2 separate regions of the Homo sapiens genome follow, and region 1 is linked to region 2. Evidence: promoter capture Hi-C in 16 types of primary human blood cells and fetal thymus (Javierre and others, 2016). All regions are on one chromosome and are shown on one strand. Each heading gives the region's core, a stretch centred on a gene start or on the middle of the fragment in contact. The rest is flanking DNA. Distances are from core to core; before and after follow the strand shown. Region 1 overlaps RAB3C (RAB3C, member RAS oncogene family). Region 2 holds the start of LINC02108 (long intergenic non-protein coding RNA 2108).

Evidence for each region. Contacts are between HindIII fragments. The CHiCAGO score rates a contact against its expected background, and 5 or more counts as called.
Region 1: a contact is called between a fragment that was not itself captured here and the fragment with the promoter of LINC02108 in region 2, in 1 of 17 cell types (endothelial precursors). The highest score is 5.2, in endothelial precursors.

The regions. Positions count from the first base shown.
Region 1 is chr5:58,806,996-58,811,073 of GRCh38, reverse strand. All of the region lies in intron 3 of RAB3C (RAB3C, member RAS oncogene family), which reads right to left. Among named protein-coding and RNA genes, the nearest start is that of RAB3C, 230 kb to the right of the region's middle. The HindIII fragment of the contact is 1,280 bases long and covers 1,088-2,367 here.
Region 2 is chr5:58,556,220-58,560,185 of GRCh38, reverse strand. LINC02108 (long intergenic non-protein coding RNA 2108) reads left to right here and starts at 1,943. Exons shown (of 4, transcript NR_109904.1): 1 at 1,943-2,000. The HindIII fragment of the contact is 10,011 bases long and covers 1-3,660 here.

The sequences.
Region 1 (4,078 bases), core at 478-2,977, 250 kb before region 2:
TCATTAAACCCTATGCTCAGTTCAGAGGCTCAAATTAAGTCCTGGTCTTACTGTGCCTCCGTATGGTTAGAATGATCCATGTTCACACCACATTCCTTGGAGGCTGACAAGGCCATGGTTGTGCCGTTTTGGTGGGAGCAAATTTCAGAAGTGCACCATTAAAATGAGTGAATAAGGGGCTGGGCACGGTGGCTCATGCCTGTAATCCCAGCACTTTGGGATGCCAAGGCGGGTGGATCACTTGAAGTCAGGAGTTCGAGACCAGCCTGGCCAACATGGCGAAACCCCGTCTCTACTAAACATACAAAAAATAGCTGGGCATGGTGATGCATGCCTGTAGTCCCAGTTACTGAGGAGGCTGAGGCAGGAGAATCGCTTGAACCTCGGAGGTGGGGGTTGCAGTGAGTGGAAATCATGCCACTATACTCCAGCCTGGGTGACACAGTGAGGCAAGCTACAACTGATGCCTAAGAGCAATACATGAACTAAAAGATATATCTCATGCATATATTACCATCCATTCTTGAAGTATACCAGTATCCTTCTATCACTGCTTTAGAAGGAAGTGTCCAATATTACCGGGCTTCTTGAGAAGATCATATTAAATAGTAATGATCATATCTCAAAACAAAACAAAACAAAGTAACTTCTAAGAAAACACACACACACACACACACACACACACACAGAGAGAGAGAGAGAGAGAGAGCACACAGAGTACTTTTGTACCAGTAGAAGCACTTTTGTCTCTTGACCACTATTTTCAAGGTGTGCCTGTCATTTGTTTGCTCTTGAATATGTTTCTTGCCCTCCCTGTGCTGTGTCCTGTATGCTAAGAGGCTGATCCTTGCAGTCTGTGTTTTCCTGGCTGCCTTGCCAGCTGGTTTCTGATGGGAGACACTGGCAGGAGACTGGACTGAAGGAGGAGGGGTGAAGCTTTGAGTGTTTCTCCCCGGCTTTCAGCAGCTTCTCTAGGAGGGGCAACAGCTCTATTGTTCCACTTCTGCTGGGTGGCTGCCCCAGCCTGTGGGTCAAGGAACACCACAAATACCTGGGCTGCTTTATTGCTCCAACTGTTCTGCAAGCTTCATCTGCCACAAACAATGTGAAACGGAAGAACAGTAAATAATAAAGTTAATATAACTATCAGCTTTCCTAGCTGTCTACTAGTTTGCAGTATGTCTTAGCACAGGCTGCTATAACAAAATGCTATAGACTGGGTGGCTTAAGCAACAGACGTTTATTTCTCTCAGTTTGGAGTCTGGGAATTCCAAGCTCAAAGTAAGACTGATTCAGTTCCTGGTGAGGGATCTCTCTCTGGTGCAGAGAGATTTCTCTTGTGTCTGTTCCTACAAGGGCACTAATCCCACAGTGGTGTGTGTCAGGGGGGCACCCACATGACCGTGTTTAAAACTAATTACCTCTCAGAGGCTTGACCTCCAAATACCATCACATTGGGTACTGGGGCTTCAACGTGTGAACTTGATGGGTGGGGACACATAAATCTGCATTCATTTTCAAGTTTCAAGGCCAGTAAGAGGGAAATATGAATTTGAGGAGTTTCCTGTAGTGTCTGAAATTCTTCCATTGCTTTTCTTGCCTAGCACTAACTTTTAAAAAGATTCAATGATCATATATTGTACATTTTTCAATTTGTGCCTCTGCTAAGGTTTTTTTTTTTTTTTTTTCTGAGAAAAAGAGCTTTCAAAACCAGAAATCCTTTTTTCTTTCATCAAAAGTGTGCCTTCAAGGAGGCTTCTGGCACAAATTCTTCAGTGACATTTTGAAGTCAAAAGTACCTTTTCCAGAGACAGCCACAGTTCTCCAGGATGTCCTTCTATTTTTATATGAAAAGAAACAATTTTTTGGTCACAATTAAGTATTTCAAACTCAAAATAAGTATTTTACACGAGAATTTGATATTCCTTTTCATTCATACATAGTTTTTCAGCTACACTGAATATTAGCATTCTCTGGGTATGTCACATCCTTGAATTTTGCTGGGCTTTTGCCCTTGCTGTGGCTTATGCTAGAATGTTATTTGGTAGAGAAGCTAGCAACATTATCATCTTATGTTAATGCAAATGCACTGGAGATAAAGAAATCCATGGCTACCAAATTTGGTACATGAAATTGGAGTTAGATGTTTGCTCTACAAATAGGATTTTTATGAACCTCACTTTTGAAATGCTAAGTCAAGAGAGTAGAAGAGTTATGTTGCTGATATTAAAAGCTGTAAGAAACTCTGTGGTTATGGCTAGACATGTTATTAAATACCATAATATTTCAAATAAAAGCAGACCATGGTGAACAAATAAGAAAGAGCATCCACCACGTAGCAGAAAATAACTCAGTCAGCACAAAGCTTTTCAAAGTGATTAGGTTTCAGTTTAAATCAAATACAAATGAGATATGATAATATCCCTTCTAAGTAATTCTATTTTTCACCTCATTATAAATTTCTTAATTGTGTTATAAGTCAAAGAAATTGGAAATTGAAAAGAATTCTTGGGCCACTTAATTTAGCTACCTGCCTGCATAAGATTTGCCCAATGGGTTTACTTAGCAGATCAACCTAAAATAATAAGGTTGGGGGATACTTCAATAATCTGATTTAAAATGTTAGTTTTATTTCCTGAAACAGATATCCAATTTTCTTGTCTTTAATTTTATCTCTGAGCAGTACCTTTTCTCATTTGGAGTCAGGAAAGAATATTTATTCTTTCTGCAACTTTTCTCTGTGTACTGTGTCAAATTCTCCAGAAATCCTGTATCATGTTTTGTCATTTCACAAATCATTTGTTTTGCCTATAGCCAACTAAAGTTATTTCTTTTTTTTTTTTTTTTTTGAGACGGAGTCTTGCTCTGTCACCCAGGCTGGAGTGCAGTGGAGCGATCTCTGCTCACTGCAAGCTCTGCCTCCCAGGTTCACGACATTCTCCTGCCTCAGCCTCTCGAGTAACTGGGACTACAGGCGCCCACCACTACGCCTGGCTAATTTTTTGTATTTTTAGTAGAGATGGGGTTTCACTGTGTTAGGCAGGATGGTCTCGATCTCCTGACCTTGTGATCCACCTGCCTTGGCCTCCCAAAGCACTGGGATTACAGGTGTGAGCCACCGCACCTGGCAAGTTATTTCAAATATCTCAGTAAACACTAGAGTTTTAGAATTTTGAATACATTGGTTTTGCTGAACAGAGTCTGTATTTTTCTACATTTACTATATTTCTTCTTAAATTTTTTTTTTTATTCTACTGGAGAGTACCCACTGTGCTATGGACTGAATTTTGTGTCTTCCCCCAAATTCATATGTTGAAGCCCTAATAATACCCAATGTGATGGTATATGGAGGTCAACCCTCTGGGATGTAATTAGATTTAGACAAGGTCATATGTTTTGCCCCCCCACCATTGTAGTTTTAATCCCTTTATAAGAAGAGACATAAATCTCCTACTCTCTCTCTACCATGTGAGAATGCAAGAAGGCATTTCTCTGCAAACCAGGAAGACAGCTCGTGCCAGGAACTCACTCAGCAGGCACCTTGATCTTGGACTTCCCAGACTCCAAACTCAGAGAAATAAATGTCTGTTGCTTAAGCCACCCAGTCTATGGTATTTTGTTACAGCAGCCTGAGATGACTAAGACCTACTGCATAGTAGCTGCAACTTAGCATGGGGCTTTCAATGTTCTCAGAGCTCACAACATATATCCATTTAGCTGAAATTAATCTTTCTAAAGTTGATACATTATGATGGGAAAAACTCTGGCTATATTAACTCTCTAGGCAGAGACAGATCACCTTCAGTCAGAAAGGTCTTGCTTCCCATCTGCAGAGACCATCCAGGCCATGATGTTTTTTTGTCTGATATGCTGCCTGCTGCTTTAAAAAGCAAATCATCCCAGGAAAAGCAAGAAGCAGCAAGTGTCTAATGGATTCACATGAGATACAGATTAAAGCAACCCTTTCTTGTTTGTTATTTTTATTTTCCCATTCTACAGAAGCACAGAGGTGATTATATTACTCAGGCGATTCTGGTTGCTTAGAAAATACCACTATTCAAATCTTGCTAAGTCACCA
Region 2 (3,966 bases), core at 694-3,193:
CAAGACTTCATGATCTAGCTTCTGCTCATTTCCATAGTTTTTATCTCTCAGCACTCCACCTTCACTCTCTGTGCACCAGTTTTGCAGAAGTTTCTACCAGTCTTCCATTGTACCATGCTCCCTCTTACCTGTAGCCTTTAGCACAGGGTAGGTATTCTGCTAGAAATGCTTTATCACTGTACTGCCTGCAACACGCATGTGCACACACACACTTTACTTTCTTAATTCATACTCAGTTTTTCAACTCTCAAATTAAACTTCAGTCTTCCAGGAAACTTTTCTTACTCGTAACACTCTGAAGTCTAAGCTAGGTATCTGTACTTTTACCTTCATAAGGCTGTCTTGTAATCACTTAGCTTCTCCTGTAACATTTCCACTAAACCATACAATTGGTAGGAACAAGGCCTGAGTCTGTCTTGTGTATCCCTTGCTTCTCATATATTAAGTCAGGGTTCAACTAGAGTAACGGAACCAGTAAGAAATAGATGTTAAGTGATTTATTGCAAGAAATAGACCTAAGTGATTTTGGGGACTGGCTGGACAAGTCTGAAATCTGTAGGGCTGGATATCAGGAGGGACAGTTTGGAACTTGGGCATGAGTTGAACTGAAGTCTGCAGATATTGAACTCTAAGCCTCAGTGTCCTAGTCTGTAAAATAGGAATAATGCTAATAGCTACCTCATAGGGCTTGCTTTTCTTCTTCAGGGAAGCCTTAGCTTTGCTCTCAGGGCCTTTAAATGGACTGAATAAATCAAGCCCACTCAGATTATGTAGTATAATCTCCCTTACTTAAAATCAATTGATTGTGGACTTTAATAACACACAAAATGCCTTCATGGCAACACTTGGATTAACATTTGATTGAATAATTAGGGACTGTGGTCTAGCCAAGTTGACAAATAAAACTAATCATCACATCTTCATATTAAGTATAGAGTGGGCACTCAGTAATTATGAGTGAAATGAACAGACACCCAGACTATTTTGTTCAACAAGAGCATTTGCTGGGTACATCTGAAGTGTTCCACTTTGTACTACTTAATGCAGCACTATCATATTATTTATGTCTTTTACTTATCAAAGTTTGTGATTTTTTTTTCCTCTTGGTACATCTGAAAGAAAGAAAATTATGTGCCCCATGCTATTTATGACCCCTCAGATTTCCTTAGAAAGAATACATTCAGGCCAGGTGCAGTGGCTCACACCTGTAATCCCAACATTTCGGGAGGCTGAGTTGGGAGGATCACTTAAGCCCAGGAGTTTGAGGTTACAGTAAGCTATGATTGTGCCACTGCACTCCAGCCTGGATGACAGAAGACCTTTTCTCTTACAAAACCAAAAAAGAATCCTTATCAATTCATGTCATTAAATGTGACAAATGTTGAGCTTCCTGAGGTTGGGGCTGCATGTTAACATTTGTGTGCTTTCTCAGCCTTACCACAGTGTATGTGTGCAGTAATTGTTCAATGCAGCTCTGTTGTAAAAAACTAAACCTACTAAGATTTCTTTAAATGATCAATTTATAGCATTTCCTATTGCATTTATGAATACTTGCAATTGATCTTGGACTATTATAATAAATGCCTTAAAAGAAGTGAAAATATACATTTGGGAGTAAATGAAAGATTTTTTCTCCAGCATCAATGCAATATAAGATTACATGTTATAATTAATAAATGTGAAATAATGTTTAATGTAAACATTATATATGTGAACAATACTGTGAATACAATGTGATGCTTATCAAAATCAGCTAAAATAAATGTTTTTAAGATTACATATTATGTGACTTGATCAGAAGAAGGAGGAAGGAAGTTTAGCATATTTTATCAATTCTAAGATGTCATCAATTGATTACGAGATACATCATTATTTTATTTACCATTAAGAACAAAAGAAAAGGGGGGAGGAGCCAAGACGGCCGAATAGGAACAGCTCCGGTCTACAGCTCCCAGCGTGAGCCACGCAGAAGACGGATGATTTCTGCATTTCCATCTGAGGTACCGGGTTCATCTCACTAGGGAGTGTCAGACAGTGGGTGCAGGCCAGTGGGTGCGCGCACGGTGCGCGAGCCAAAGCAGGGCGAGGCATTGCCTCACCTGGGAAGCTCAAGGGGTCAGGGAGTTCCCTTTCCGAGTCAAAGAAAGGGGTAACGGACGCACCTGGAAAATCAGTTCACTCCCACCCGAATATTGCGCTTTTCAGACCGGCTTAAAAAACGGCGCACCACGAGACTATATCCCACACCTGGCTCGGAGTGTCCTACGCCCACAGAGTCTCCCTGATTGCTAGCACAGCAGTCTGAGATCGAACTGCAAGGCGGCAGCGAGGCTGTGGGAGGGGCGCCCGCCATTGCCCAGGCTTGCTTAGGTAAACAAAGCAGCTCGAACTGGGTGGAGCCCACCACAGCTCAAGGAGGCCTGCCTGCCACTGTAGGCTCCACCTCTGGGGGCAGGGCACAGACAAACAAAAAGACAGCAGTAACCTCTGCGACTTAAATGTCCCTGTCTGACAGCTTTGAAGGGAGCAGTGGTTCTCCCAGCACCCAGCTGGAGATCTGAGAACCGTCAGACTGCCTCCTCAAGTGGGTCCCTGACCCCTGACCCCTGAGCAGCCTAACTGGGAGGCACCCCCAGGAGGGGCACACTGACACCTCACACGGCAGGGTATTCCAACAGACCTGCAGCTGAGGGTCCTGTCTGTTAGAAGGAAAACTAACAAACAGAAAGGACATCCACACCGAAAACCCATCTGTACATCACCATCATCAAAGACCAAAAGTAGATAAAACCACAAAGATGGGGAAAAAACAGAACAGAAAAACTGGAAACTCTAAAACGCAGAGCGCCTCTTCTCCTCCAAAGGAACGCAGTTCCTCACCAGCAACGGAACAAAGCTGGATGGAGAATGACTTTGAAGAGCTGAGAGAAGAAGGCTTCAGACGATCAAATTACTCTGAGCTACGGGAGGACATTCAAACCAAAGGCAAAGAAGTTGAAAACTTTGAAAAAAATTTAGATGAATGTATAACTAGAATAACCAATACAGAGAAGTGCTTAAAGGAGCTGATGGAGCTGAAAACCAAGGCTCGAGAACTACGTGAAGAATGCAGAAGCCTCAGGAGCCGATGCGATCAACTGGAAGAAAGGGTATCAGCAATGGAAGATGAAATGAATGAAATGAAGCGAGAAGGGAAGGTTAGAGCAAAAACAATAAAAAGAAATGAGCAAAGCCTCCAAGAAAAATGGGACTATGTGAAAAGACCAAATCTACGTCTGATTGGTGTAACTGAAAGTGATGGGGAGAATGGAACCAAGTTGGAAAACACTCTGCAGGATATTATCCAGGAGAACTTCCCCAATCTAGCAAGGCAGGCCAACATTCAGATTCAGGAAATACAGAGAACACCACAAAGATACTCCTCGAGAAGAGCAACTCCAAGACACATAATTGTCAGATTCACCAAAGTTGAAATGAAGGAAAAAATGTTAAGGGCAGCTAGAGAGAAAGGTCGGGTTACCCTCAAAGGGAAGCCCATCAGACTAACAGCGGATCTCTCGGCAGAAACTCTACAAGCCAGAAGAGAGTGGGGGCCAATATTCAACATTCTTAAAGAAAAGAATTTTCAACCCAGAATTTCATATCCAGCCAAACTAAGCTTCATAAGTGAACGAGAAATAAAATACTTCACAGACAAGCAAATGCTGAGAGATTTTGTCACCACCAGGCCTGCCCTAAAAGAGCTCCTGAAGAAAGCGCTAAACATGGAAAGGAACAACCGGTACCGGCCACTGCAAAATCATGCCAAAATGTAAAGACCATCGAGACTAGGAAGAAACTGCATCAACTAACGAGCAAAATCACCAGCTAACATCACAATGACAGGATCAAATTCACACATAACAATATTAACTTTAAATGTAAATGGACTAAATGCTCCAATTAAAAGACACAGACTGGCAAATT